2 separate regions of the Homo sapiens genome follow, and region 2 is linked to region 1. The links are contacts of gene promoters, found by promoter capture Hi-C in human tissues and cell types (Jung and others, 2019). All regions are on one chromosome and are shown on one strand. Each heading gives the region's core, a stretch centred on a gene start or on the middle of the fragment in contact. The rest is flanking DNA. Distances are from core to core; before and after follow the strand shown.

The links. The method cuts DNA at HindIII sites, captures the fragments that hold promoters and counts their contacts. A contact is called where the count stands out against the background at its distance.
Region 2: a contact is called between a fragment that was not itself captured here and the fragment with the promoter of NASP in region 1, in 1 of the 25 tissues and cell types used here (bladder).

Annotation. Positions count from the first base shown.
Region 1 is chr1:45,580,570-45,587,937 of GRCh38, forward strand. NASP (nuclear autoantigenic sperm protein) reads left to right here and starts at 3,472. Exons shown (of 15, transcript NM_002482.4): 1 at 3,472-3,636. The coding sequence starts at 3,578. RefSeq lists enhancers at 2,088-2,137, 2,548-2,607, 3,058-3,367 and silencers at 2,898-2,957, 3,868-4,167. The HindIII fragment of the contact is 14,749 bases long and covers 1-7,368 here.
Region 2 is chr1:46,211,592-46,218,959 of GRCh38, forward strand. All of the region lies in intron 1 of LURAP1 (leucine rich adaptor protein 1), which reads left to right. It also overlaps a transcript of POMGNT1 not described here. Among named protein-coding and RNA genes, the nearest start is that of LURAP1, 12 kb to the left of the region's middle. RefSeq lists an enhancer at 6,564-7,065. The HindIII fragment of the contact is 6,161 bases long and covers 425-6,585 here.

The DNA.
Region 1 (7,368 bases), core at 2,222-4,721:
AGGAGGTGGAGATTGCAGTGAGCTGAGATCATGACAGCACACTCCAGCCTGGGCGACAGAGTGAGACTCTGTCTCAAAAAAAATTTAAAAAGTACATGGATTTAAAATATACTTATTTTTTAAAATTTTTATTTTTTGTTTTTTTGAGATGGAATCTCACTCTGTTGCCCAGGCTGGAGTGCAGTGGTGCAATCTCGACTCACTGCAACCTCCGCCTCCTAGGTTCAAGCGATTCTCCTGCCTTAGCCTCCTGAGTAGCTAGGATTATAGGCGCCCACCACCATGCCCGGCTAATTTTTGTACTTTTAGTAGAGACGGGGTTTCACCATGTTGGCCAGGCTGGTCTCAAACTCCTGACCTCAGGTGATCTGCCTGCCTCGGCCTCTCAAAGTGCTGGGATTACAGGCGTGAGCCACCCTGCCTGGCCTTATTTTTATTTATTTATTATTTATTTATTTTTGAGACAGAGTCTCACTCTGTCACCCAGGCTGGAGTACAGTGGTGCGATCTCAGCTCACTGCAACCTCCACCTCCTGGGTTTAAGTGATTCTCCTGCCTCAGCCTCCTGAGTAGCTGGGACTACAGGCCCCCACCACCATGTCCGGCTAATTTTTGAATTTTTAGTAGAGATGGGTTTTTACCATGTTGGCTAGGATGGTCTTGATCTCCTGACCGTGTGATGCACCCGCCTTGGCCTCCCAAAGTGTTGGGATTACAGGCGTGAGCCACTGTGCCCAGCTATTCATTTTATTTTATTTATTTATTTTTTGAGATGAAGTCTCGCTCTGTTGCCAGGCTGGAGTGCAGTTGCACGATGTCGGCTCACTGCAAACTGCCTCCCAGGTTCAAGCGATTCTCCTGCCTCAGCCTCCCGAAGTAGCTGAGATTTCAGGCGCCTGCCACCACGCCTGCCTAATTTTTGTATTTTTAGTAGAGATGGGGTTTCACCAGGGGATCCAGGCTGGTCTCAAACTCCTGACCTCAGGTGATCTGCCCGCCTCGGCCTCCCAAAGTGCTGGGATTACAGGAGTGAGCCACCGCGCCCGGCCTGCATCCAGCTATTTATTTTTTTTTGAGATGGAGACTCACCATCGCCCAGGCTGGAGTGTAGTAGTGCAATCTCAGCTCACTGCAACCTCCAACTCCTGGGTTCAAGTGGGTCTCTTGCCTCAGCCTCCCAAGTAGCTGGGATTACAGGAGCCTGCCACCACTCCCGGCTAATTTTTGTATTTTTAGTAGAGATGGTGTTTCACTATGTTCGCTAAGCTGGTCTCGAACTCCTGACTTCAAGTGATCCGCCTGCCTCAGCCTCCCAAAGTGCTGGGATAACAGGCACCTGCTACCACGCCCAGCCTAAAATATATTTTAAAATATATTTCTCTGAGTTCCTCAAGGTAGAGTCCATGTCTTTTGTCCCCAGAACCTAGTACAAAGTCTTGTACCTCAAAGTTGCTCAGTGAATATTAATTTAATGGATGAATCGGTCACACCAGTAATTGCAGAGGTTTTCTCAGGCCCTAGCCCTGGCTGCAAGGACTTTGGAGAGATCTCCCCTCCCAACACCCTCCATTTACCACATCATCAGACTGTGGTAGCCATTCAATGAGTGCTTAGCGTGAATTCTACACAGTGCTAATTACCTGTAATTCTCACAATGTCCTTAAGCGGTGGCTACTAATATGTCTTCATTTTACACTTAACCTTAATCCCAGCTACTCGATTACAATCCGGGTTACGTGACCTGGCTCACGTCACCTAGCTAATAATGGAAGAGCCCATGTATGTTTGCCATAGGAATTGGCATTTTCACGTCCAGCTCTCTAGCCCCAAAGATTTCAACCTCTTCGAGCCTTGACAGATTGGAATAAGAATCCTCTCCAGGAATCTTTCCCAATATGCTGGAACCTAAAGGGAAATAAAAACCCCTACTCCGATCAGCGTAGACTGGGCCATGGTGAAAAGGAATGGATGATACTCCAGGTGTGAGGAATTGCAGCTTTTTAGCCTGCCAGTTATTTTTCACTCAGCCATTTGCAGGAAATGAGGCACACTGCTTTCCATAACTGATTTGTCTTGCAACTTTCTGAACAAGTCACAGCTTCCCCTTTTTTTTTTTTTTGAGACGGAGTCTCGCTCTGTTGCCCAGGCTGCAGTGCAGTGGCGAGATCTCGGCTCACTGCAACCTTTGCCTCCCGGGTTCAAGTGATTCTCCTGCCTTAGCCTCCCGAGTAGCTGGGATTACAGGAGCCTGCCACCACACCTGGCTAATTTTCGTATTTTTAGTAGAGACGGGGTTTCACCATGTTGGCCAGGTTGGAACCTTGGCCTATTTATTTATTTATTTTTGAGACGGAGTTTCGCTCTGTTGCCCAGGCTGGAGTGCAGTGGCGAGCTCTCGGCTCACTGCAACCTCTGCCTTCCGGGTTCTAGTATTCTCCTACCTCAGCCTCCCGAGTAGCTGGGATTACAGGCGCCCGCCACCACGCCCGGCTAATTTTTGTATTTTTTAGTAGAGACGGGGGGGTCTCACCATCTTGGCCAGGCTGGTCTTGAACTCCTGACCTCGTGATCCACCAGCCTAGGCCTCCCAAAGTGCTGGGATTACAGGCGTGAGCCACCGCGTCCGGCCCCTTGGTTTATTTTTCTAAGAAACAGACTAACACTGATCTCACTAGTAGCATTGTTAATATTAAACAAGATAGCTAATAGCTTTAAAGCGTCTAATCACGGTACCCCCACGAGTAGTAGTCACACAGCAAATCATAGGCAGGAGTGGACAAACAGCGCTGGGAGCATTAATTCTGGTAGATTTGGAGTCTGGGCAGGGCCTAAGAGGATGGGATCAGCGGATTGGGCCAGCCAAAGGGGGCGGGTTCAGAGGGAGGAGCCAGCTGCCTCCCGCTGCAAGCCCCGAGCTTTGAATCAAGCGCGGTAGTTTCAGCTGTAGCCAATCCTAGAACAAAATCTTTTTGCGTCAGTTGTTGCTGAGGCCTAGATCTCACCCAGATCAGTTCTAGTCGCTGCTGCTTGTACCCGTCCTCGGCCCTTGCGTGTCCGTCCGTTACGACTCAGAGGACGGAGAGAAAGTCTAAGTCACCTTCCTCAGTATCCAGGCCGGAAGGAGACTCTCAGCTACTCGCCCTGAACATGCAGAGCAGCACTGGCTTCCCTGTCTCTGGATGCCGCAGGGGCGTCCTGTCAGGAGTTGTAGTGTCAAGATTCCAGTTCTTCTTATGCGACTTGCTGGAGAAGCAGGAAGTTGCTGTTTATTGGAGAAGTCGGGCTAGGGAGGGAAACAATCCCGCGGAGCCATATGGAGAGGGCAGGAGGTGTCTAGATAGTGGTAGGCCGGCGGGGGACGGAGGGTATGGGTGGTGAGTCCTGGCCCTTTAAACCCGAGGGGGAGGATCCGGAAGTGGATGGGCGGGGCGAAGGGTCCTCGTATATAAAAGGGCCCCGGCCGCGCGGGGTCTCTAATCTGCCATTTTCTGTCCCTGAGTGAGTCTCTGGCGTCCCAAATTGCCTGTTTTTCTCGCAGGCTCTATTCCGTTCGCTGGTTCGCCACCTCAGGGGAACGATGGCCATGGAGTCCACAGCCACTGCCGCCGTCGCCGCGGAGCTGGTTTCTGCCGACAAGTAAGCGGGACTGTGGAAAGCTTAAGGCACTGGCCAGTCCGCGGGGAGGGCTAATGGACGGGGGCTCCGGAGAAGGGGCAGACCGGTGGGCGGGAGTACTTGCCTTCCCAAGAGCAGCTGTCGCTGTTCGGGAAGGCCTGGTCACTGGAGCAGTCCTTCTTTTGCTGAGAGCCTCGCGCAGCAGCGGTAACGGCGGTCGGCTGGCGCCCCCTGCCCCGCTTTTCGCGGCCGCCATCTTGCCGGGGGCAGCGGCGGCTGTATCCTTCGCCTGCCCCTCTCCTTCCTCCCCCAGCCCGGGGCGGTTGGCCGGGAGGCGGGGCCCTGGCGCGCGGGTTGGCCTTCACGCCCCTTCTGTCCCCAGCGTGTGCCTCTGGTAGAACCCCTGGATAACCCGGGAATATAACCAACGAAGATTTGGCGCCAAAAGGGAAAAAAAACCTTGCACGAGGAAGGAGGCTGGACCTGAGGGGTCGGGGTGGGCGGGGCCTTGCTGAGGGCGGGGTTTTGCGCGCGTGCGTTCGCTTCCCTCGCCGGCCCTGGGGCAGGGGGCGGGGCCTTGAGGAGGCGGGAAAACTCCATTGTTTGGGGCCGCTGCGGCTCCAGCAGGAGCTTTGGACTATCTCCGTGGGGCCGGCGAGGCTAGTTCCCCCCGACACCTCGCTCACGTCTTGTGCTGGGAGATAGTTATCGCTCCCCGCGACTCCGTGAGCCCCTGCCTGTGGTGGGGAGGATTGTCGTTCTTTAGACTTTGGAGGTGGTGTCTGTTTGGGGGGAACATTACCGGACGTAAAGCGTCTTCAGGAAGCGCTGTCTGGAGCTCTCACCAGCACTGTTTGGTTGCTAGGTGAATCGGCAGTAGTATGCACGAAGTGGAGAAGGACTGGAGGGAAACAAGATAGGATTGTTTTGAAAGCGGCACAGTGCCACTCAGGCGTAATCTGTTTTTTGAACAGTGGAGGGAAACACTACACGAGTTCAAGGAAACAAGTGCTGTTTCCCATACAGTAGGTCTGATTTCCCAATCTTGCCATATTTTTTTAGGCATCTGGTTCTATTTTTTTTTCTAATCTTGTGCGCTTTAGAGGTTAGTTGCCTTCCCTGTAAAAGGAATGGTTGCTGTGAAGTTTTTTAAATTGATATTCTATAGGCTTACACTCTGTCATGATTATGTCTTTGTTTGTTTATAGTTAGAGATTTACGTATATCTCTGCTTACCACCTTTTCTCTCTGCGTTCTTGTAGAGCAGTGGTTCTCAAGTCACCCTGAGAATCATTTGGGAACTCATGGGAAATACAATTTTAATTTCAAACTCCCATTACCTGCCTCTTTCCCCATTGATTCGATATAAGCAGTATAGATTGGGCTTGGGAGTCGTGCTATAGCTATTATAAAAAGAGCTGCTTTTTATAATGTTTCCTAGACAGCTCTAGCAGTCAGTATTTCACTGACAGCTGTGTGTTTTTGTTTTGTTTTTGCAGACAGGGTCTGGATCTCACATCCAGACTGGAGTGTAGTGTTGTGATCATAGCTCACTGCAACCTCGAACTCCTGGGCACAACTGATCTTCCCTAGTAGCTTGGGACTACAGGTGTGCCACTACACCTGGCCAATTTTTTGTAGATACAAGGTCTTAATGTTGCCCAGGTTGGTCTCAGACTCTTGGACTCAAGCAGTCCTCCCGCCTTGGCCTCCCAAAGTGTTGAGGTTACAGGCGTGAGGCACGGCGCAGGGCCAGGTGTTTTTGTTTTTGTTTTTTGAGGTAGAAGTATGCAACAAATACCTCTTGCAGGTCCCCTGTGTCTAGCCAGAGTTAGGTCATTAGTGAATTTAGTTTCCTGGCAGGTTATACATAGAGAAAGTTTATGTATATGTGGCTAGAAGAAAGCAAACCATTTAGTTCCTCACAGCATAAATTGAAAGCTAAAACTGAGCAATTATATGTGCTGGGTGTGTGGGGGTGGGGGGGCAGGGTCTCTGTCACCCAGGTTGGAGTGCAGTGATGCCATCTCGGCCCCCTGCAGCCCCTACCGTGCCGTGTGTGTGTGTGTGTGTGTGTGTGTGTGTGTGTGTGTGTGTGTGGTGTGTGTGTGTGTGTGTGTGTGTGGTGTGTGTGTGTGTCACCCAGGCTGGAGTGCAGTGATGCCATCTCGGCCCACAGCAGCCCCTACCTCCTGGCCTCAAGTGATTGTCCGGCCTCAGCCTCCCGAGTAGCTGGGACTGCAGGCGCACACCACAAGGCCCAGCTGATTCTAGTATTTATTTTGTAAAGACGAGTTTTTGCCATGTTGCCCAGGCTGGTCTCCCAACGCCTAGGCTCAAGGGATCCACCCACGTGGGCCTCTCAAAGTGCTGAGATTACCGGCGTGAGCCACCAAGCCTGGCTAGTATTTTCATTTTCATTTTCATTCTTCGTTTCCCCATCTAATTAGTGTGAGAGAACATGAAAGCAGTGTGTCTCAGTTAAGTAAGTTAGTGGGGACACTTAGAGGTAAAGTTTATAAGGTCCTCATGTTTAAGGGTAGGATAAAGAAAATGACTTGAATTTAGACTTTAGGTAAGAATGTACATTATAATTCGAGGATGACCATTGAAAGAATAAATATAACTTCCAAACCAGTAGAAAGAAAAAAAATGGAATGAGAAATAAACCTCAGTTCAGGTTTTTTAAATTTAGGAGATGAGGATCTTACTATGTTGCCCAGGCTGGATTCCCAACTCCTAGTCTCAAGCAATCCTTCCATCTCAGCCTTCTGGGTAGCTGGGACTACAGGCATGCATCACCTCGCCTGGCTTAGAATTGGCTTTGATAGCAGCTTCATTGCTTCAGTAGTGATATTGGACCACAGTTTTGTCGTCTGCAAAAAGTCTTAGGTTGGCTTTTGTCCCCTCGTGCCATTAAAGCAGTATTGTTTAAGGTGATGTATATCTACATGCTAAATTAATCCTGTCATTCTTAGCTTTCTAACTAGTTCTTAGTTGGTTTTTTTTTGTTGTTTTTTTTTTGAGAGGGAGTTTTGTCACCCAGGCTGGAGTGCAGTGGCACAATCTCTGCTCACTGCAACCTCCGCCCTCCCGGATTCAAGCAAGTCTCTTGCCTCAGCCTCCCAAGTAGCTGGGACTGCAGGTGTGTACCACCACACCTGGCTAATTTTTTGGGGTTTTGCCATGTTGGCCAGGGTGATCTCGAACTCCTGACCTCAGGTGATCAGCCGGTCTCGGCGTGAGCCACCGTGCCCGGCTGCAGTTATGATTTAATACTGCATCTTTGTTCATTTACATATCTCAACTGTGGATGGTGCCGTGTATGGTCTGTGTGTTTTGATGAATTTTAACTTTTTATAATTTGTATTTTATGGTAGTGAAGAAGACTAGTACCTACATATCTTTTATGCATTGATTACATACATTTTGTTAATTCAACATTTCTAGGCTATGAGGTTTGTCTTGAGTTTTTTCATATATATATATATATATATATATATAATTAATTTTTTGGAGAGAGAGTCTTGTTGTCTTGCCCAAGCTGGAGTGTAGTGGCCAGATCTTGGCTTACTGCAACTTCTGCCTCCCCTGTGCAAGCGATTCTTGTGCATCAGCCTCCCAAGTAGCTGAGACTACAGTTTACAAAAATTAGCCGAGCATGGGTAGCAGGGTCCTGTAATCGCTTGAAACCGGGAGGCAGAGGTTGCAGTGAGTCGAGATTGTGCCACTGCACTCTAGCCTCAGAGCAAG
Region 2 (7,368 bases), core at 2,255-4,754, 630 kb after region 1:
AATATGTTCCTTCGATGTCTCATGACAAACCTTTAGATAGTACCTCATATTATAATAAAGAAATGAAGGTTTAAAGAAATCAATTTTAATTTCATATGGCTCATTAATGGCAAAACTGGAACTCAAATCTAGGTCCATTTAATTCCAGTGTCTAATTTTCTCAATGTACAAATATATATATATATTTTTTTGAGACGGAGTCTTGCTCTGTTGCCCAAGCTGGAGTGCAGTGGTGTGATCTCGGCTCACTACAACCTCTGCCTCGGTTCAAGTGATTCTCCTGCCTCAGCCTCCTGAGTAGCTGGGCTTACAGGCGTGCGCCACAACGCCTGGCCAATTTTTGTATTTTTATTAGAGACGGGGTTTCACCATGTTGGCCAGGCTGGTCTCAAATTCCTGATCTCAGGTGATCTTCCCACCTCGACCTCCCAAAGTGCCGGGATTACAGGAGTGAGCTACCACACCTGGCCTCAATGTACAAATATTAATGCATGGTCTTACTCTGGTTTATCATAGATGTGAATAAAGCAGTTATTTCCTGAATAATTCAATAAACATTTTTCAAATACAAAAAACATTTACTGTGTTTGTGTGACCTGCGGGATCTGACCTGTATATGTAAATACACATACACACATAATGACGTTTTGGTCAATGTCAGACCATGTATAACATAAACAACCATGTAAATTTTTTTTTTTTTTTTTGAGACGGAGTCTTGCTATGTCATCCAGGCTGGAGTGCAGTGGCGCGATCTCAGCTCACTGCAAGCTCCGCCTCCCGGGTTCATGCCATTCTCCTGCCTCAGCCTCCCCAGCAGCTGGGACTACAGGCGTACACTGCCACGCCCAGCGAATTTTTTTGTATTTTTAACAGAGACGGGGTTTCACCGTGTTAGCCAGGATGGTCTTGATCTCCTGACCTCGTGATCCGCCCGCCTTGGCCTCCCAAAGTGCTGGGATTACAGGCGTGAGCCACTGCACCCGGCCAAATTTTTTTTTTTGAATCAGAGTCTCGCTCTGTCACCCAAGCTATAGTACAGTGGCACCATCTCAGCTCACTGTAACCTCTGCCTCCCGGGTTCAAGTGATTCTCCTGCCTGAGCCTCCCGAGTAGCTGGGATTACAGGCAAGAGCCACCATGCTTGGCTAATTTTTTATTTTATTTTATTTTATTTTATTTTTTTGAGACAGAGTCTCGCTCTGTCGCCCAGGCTGGAGTGCAGTGGCATGATCCCAGCTCACTGCAAGCTCCACCTCCCGAGTTCACACCATTCTCTTGCCTCAGCCTCCTGAGTAGCTGGGACTACAGGTGTCCACCACCACACCTGGCAAAAATTTTTTTTGTAATTTTTAGTAGAGACGGGGTTTCACCGTGTTAGCCAGGATGGTCTCGATCTCCTGACCTCTAGTGATCTGTCCTCCTCAGCTTCCCAAAGTGCTGGGATTACCATATAAACATTTTGATCAATGATAGACTACATATGTCAAATAAACATTTATCATGTGTGTATATATGCACATATATATAAACATTTATGTGTATATAAGTGTGTACACATACACAAATATTTATATGATGTTTCAGTCATCATACGACCAAAACATACGATGTTTCGATGAACAGCATATACCATAGTGATTTCATAAGATTATAACACAGCATATACACAAATATGATATATGGCACTTGATATTGGCATAGCAGATCAAGTAGGGATTGATATTCAGTAATTGTGCTGGGACATTTTGTTTTCCATATTTTAAAAAGTATATAAATTTTTTAAAATGTCATCTAGTTTGTGCATTTACCCTGTCATATTTGCACGGCAGTAAAACCTCCTGCTGGTGTATTTCTCTAAGCATATCCCCATTGTTACGTGACAAATGACTTTATATATGGAGAATAGAACAGAAGGTCTCTAGATTAAAAGACACTGAGCATAGTTGAGGACAAGAGGGACTAAATAAAAATACACTAAATACGGCCAGGCACAATGGCTTACGCCTGTAATCACAGCACTCTGGGAGGCTGAGGTGAGGAGTTTGAGCCTGGGAGTTTGAGGCTACAGTGAGCTATGATCATGCCACTGCACTCCAGCCTGGACAACGTAGCGAGACTTTGTCTCTACAAAAACTTTAAAAAGTACTAAATATCATGAAATACCTCTCCAAGCCTTTACCCCTACTTGGCTCCTAGGATACTGACAGCCTTGCTTACGTTATACTCTCTAGAGTGGTATAATATGGGGAATATGATTAACTCAAGAAAAAAAAAAAAGATACAGACTTTAGACCTCCAATTAAACAGCCCAATCAGATCATCCTGTAGTGAGGCTCAGAGTTGGCAAGCTTCATACATACACGGTTTCTAGTCATTGTAGAGATCCACTCTGAAGGGTGAGCAGCAGTTAAAGATGATAGACATCTGACCCTCTATATAGACCTAAATAAATAGGAAAAAGCAACTTGAGGCCGGGCATGGTGGCTCAGGCCTGTAATCCCAATACTTTGGAAGGCCGAGGCTGGATGATCACTTGAGGTCAGGAATTTGAGACCAGCCTGGCCAACATGATGAAACCCCATCCCTACTGAAAATACAAAAATTAGCTGGTTGTGGTAGCGGGCACCTGTAATCCCAGCTATTCAGAAGGTTGAGGCATGAGAATCGCTTGAACCTGGGAGGTAGAGGTTGCAGTGAGCCGAGATCGTGCCACTGCACTCCAGCCTGGGTGACAGAATGACATTCTGTCTCAAAAAGAAAAAAAAAAAGGAAAAGAAAAAGCAACTTGAATGAAATGGAGATAATACAGAGAGATACGAACTTATAAAAATCATTAAGCATATCCTTAAAGAGATAAAAGATAATACTGTAGCCATGAACAAAAACAAGAAGGTGTAAAAAGGTAAACATTCAGAGAACTAGAAACAGCACTTGGAAATAAACACATCATGGCGGGGAAAAGAAAAAAGAAAAACCAAAGAGTTGATAATAGGCCAGGTGTGGTGGCTCATGCCTGTAATCCCAGCACTTGGGAGGCCAAGGCAGTGGATCACCTGAGGTCAGGAGTTCAATAGCAGCCTGACCAACATGGTGAAACCCCATCTCTACTAAAAATACAAAAATCAGCCAGATGTGGTGGCAGACACCTGTAATTCCAGTTACTTGGGAGCCTGAGTCATGAGAATCACTTGAACCCGAGAGGCAGAGGCTGCAGTGAGCCAAGATGTGCGCCATTGCACTCCAGCCTGGGGGACAAGAGTGAGACTCCATCTCAAAAAAAAAAAAAAAAAAAAGAGGAGTTGATCAAGTTGAAATATTTCAGAAACTAGAGCAAGTATAGAAATAGATGTGACTGGGTGCTGTGGCTCACGCCTGTAATCCCAGCACTTTGAGAGGCCAAGGCAGGTGGATCACAAGGTCAGGAGATTGAAACCATCCTGGCTAACATGGTGAAACCCTGTCTGTACTAAAGATACAAAAAATTAGCCGGGTGTGGTGGTGGGCACCTGTAGTCCCAGCTGCTTGGGAGGCTGAGGCAGGAGAATGGCGTGAACCCGGGAGGTGGAGCTTGCAGTAAGCCAAGATCGCACCATTGCACTCTAGCCTGGGCGACACAACAAAACTCTGTCTCAAAAAAAAAAAAAAAAAAGAGATGCAAGAGTGAAAAAAACAAAAACAAAAACATAGAGGATCATCAGTTCAGGACACCCTCTGTCCAAGTAATAGGATTCCCAGAAAGAACAGAAAAATACTGGAGGATAATCATCAAAGAAATAATTTTAAAAAATCTCCCAGAACTGAAGAACGTCAGTTTCCAGATTGAAAAGGCCCATCAAGTGGCTAACTCAATAGATGAAAATAACCCACACCATGGCAAATTGCTGTAAAAACAGAACACTGGGAACAAAGAGAAGATCCTAAAAGCTTTCAGCAAGAATGGGAAAAGGGTCACATACAAAGGATCAGGGATTGGAATGGCATTAGATTTTTAAAGGCTAACACTGAAAATTAAAAGACATGGAGGCTGGGTGCCATGGCACATGCCTCTAATCCCAGCACTCTGGGAGGCCAAGATGGGCAGATCCCTTGAGCTCAGGAGTTTGAGACCAGCCTGGGCAACATAGTGAGACCCCATCTACAAAAAAAAATTTAAAAATTAGCCAGGTGTAGGTACATGCCTGTAGTCCAGCTACTTAGGAGGCTGAGGCAGGAGGGTTGCTTGAGCTCAGGGGATCAAGGCTGTAGTCAACCATGATTGTGCCACCACTGCACTCCAGCCTGGGCTATAGAGTAAGACCCTGTCTCAAAAATAAAATACGACAATGGAACAATGCCTTAACCCCTGAGGAAGAATTATTTTCAACCTGGAATTCTATATCCTGCCAAACTATCAATAGTGTGAGGAAAGATTAATAACTTTTTAAAAATAATTTCAACTTTTATTTTATCTTTTTTTTTTTTTTTTTTTTTTTGTGACGGAGTCTCGCTGTTGCCCAGGCTGGAGTGCAGTGGCGCGATCTCGGCTCACTGCAGGCTCCGCCCCCCAGGTTCACGCCATTCTCCTGCCTCAACCTCCCGAGTAGCTGAGACTACAGGCGCCCGCCACCTCGCCCAGCTAATTTTTTGTATTTTTAGTAGAGACGGGGTTTCACCGTGTTAGCCAGGATGGTCTCTATCTCCTGACCTCGTGATCCACCCGCCTCGGCCTCCCAAAGTGCTGGGATTACAGGCATGAGCCACCACGCTCGGCCCTATTTTATCTTATTTGAGAGAAATCTCATTCTGTCACCCAGGCTGGGTGCAGTGGCACCACCATGGATCACTGCAGCCTTGACCCCCCAGGCTCAAGCAATCCTCTCACCTCAGCCTCCCGAGGAGCTGGGTCTACAGGCACATACCACCACACCTGACTAATTTTTAAATTTTTTGTAGAGACAGTGTCTCACTCTGTTACCTAGGCTGATCTCAAACTCCTAGACTCAAGTGATCCTCCTCTCTTGGCCTCTCCAAGTGCTGGAATTACAGGCAAGAGCCACCATGCCCAGCCCAACTTTTATTTTAGATTCGGAGGGGGGTACCTGCGCAGGTTTGTTACATGGGTATATCACATGATTCTGAGATTTGGGATACTGTTGAACCCATCACCCAGGAAGTGAGCATAGTACCCAACAAATAATTTTTCAATCCTTGCCCCCACCTCTCTCCCTCCTCCAACAGTCCCCAGTGTCTATCATTACCATCTTTATGTTCATATACCCAATGTTTAGCTCCCATTTATAAGTTAGAACATGCAGTATTTGGTTTTCTGCTCTTGCATTAATTCACTTAGGATTATAGCCTCCAGTTGCATACATGTTGCTGCAAAGGACATGATTTCATTATATCTTATGGATGTGTAATAACATTTTAAAACATGCAAAGCTTCAATAAATTTACCTCTTATGCCAACTTTCTCAGGATGCTACTAGAGGGAAAGAACCATTCACCCAAATGAAGGAGTAAATGAAAAAAGAAGATATGGAATCTAAGAAACGAGGGATCCAGCTAAGGAAAGAGGCAAAGGAATTACCAAGATGATAATGGAGGGAGATCCCTGGAGGGCAATTGTGCAGCAAGGACAGATGGAAGCAGAGCAGAGGGCTCCTTAAGAGATGCCTCTCAGAAGATGGAATAGATAGAACGTGTCATGCATTCAAAAGCCTGGAGAGGGAAATTCAGAGAATTGAGGGAGTGTTTGAGGTTGACTTGCTGATAACTACATAGCAAACTAGGCAATATAATAATAATAATAATTCTAAGGATAAAATGTTGTAAGAAATAAAAAGTAACTATAGTAAACTACATGGCTTAGCTGTGAAGAGCATTTCCAAATCCTAATAAAGTAAACACTGAGTAATTTTATTGCCTATTAGGAGGATGGAAGATGGGAAGGGTATCTGTATGGCAGGGGAGTGGGGAGTGGGATGAAAGTTAAATCCTGCCTGGGCGTGGTGGTTCACGCCTTGTAATCCCGGCACTTTGGAAGTCCAAGGTGGGCAGATTATTTGAGGTCAGGAGTTTGAGACCAGCCTGGCTAACCTGGTGATGCCCTGTCTCTACTAAAAATACAAAAATTAGCCAGGCGTGGTAGGTGATACTTGTAATCCCAGCTACTCAGCAGGCTGAGGCAAGAGAATCGCTTGAACCCTGGAGGCGGAGGTTGCAGTGAGCTAAGATGGCGCCATTGCACTCCAGCCTGGGCAACAAGAGAGAAACTCTGTCTCAAAAAAGAAAAAAGAAAGTTAAGTCCCTAATCTTATATAGTGTGGGAAATCAATAGAAAATGCCTGAAATTTAAATACCAAGAAATAGCAATATAAATATGGAGATTAGGAGGTAAATACCAAAATAAACAACTAAATAAATAATAATAGTTGTTTCTGGGAAGTAGGACCAGGATGGGAGAACTGTTCATGTTCATAATCTTGTGGAACTGTTTGCCTCTTTAATCTCTGTGCATCTGTTACTTTGATTAGAAATAAAACTGGGCTGGGTGTGGTGGCTCACACCTGTAATCCCAGCACTTTTGGAAGAATTGCTTTGAGCCTAGGAGTTTGAGACCAACCTGGGCAACAAGGTGAGACCTTGTCTGTACAAAAAATAAAATTAGCCAGGTGTGGTGCACGCCTGTGGTCTTAGCTCCTTGGGAGGTTGAGGTGAGAGAATCGCTTGAGACCAGGAGATGGAGGCTGTAGTGAGCCATGACTGTGCCACTGCACTCTAGCCTGAGTGACAGAACAAGACCCTGTCTCAAAAAATAATAATAAAAGTAAAACTAAATAAAACTAGTTTTAAAAAGTCATTTGTGGCAGCACCTTGGGTTCACAGAGCAGAATGCTAGAGGCGAAACTATAGAGATGGGCGAGAGCCACATGTTACAGGCTTTTGAATGCCAGTTGCTAAAATGTTTAGATTTCATTCTCTAAGAGGAGGGCGGAGTTCCCTGCTATTGTAGATGTTCGGATTCGGCACTCTCTAAGAGCAGTGCAATGCCTATAAAGGCTCTTGAGCAGGGAGAGACAGGTTCAGACTTGTGCTTAGGGAAGGTAACAGTGCATCTGAGCTGGAACGGACGCTTGAGATTACCCTGTAAGTCAAATTTACTTCCAGTACAGACAGGTAGACTGGTGTGTACAGGCAAGAAGGCCTGAATGCCCAGCCAGTGGGATTCTGATCCTTCTAAGCTCTGGCCAACCCTTTCCCCTCTCGGTGGCTGCTACCAATGCCCTGAAAAGACTAGGGAACCAGGTTAGCTCTCTTTATTCCCCAGCTCCTGCCTCCTTTTGGCCCAATCTACTTCCTGATTAACACCCTATCTTGCTATTC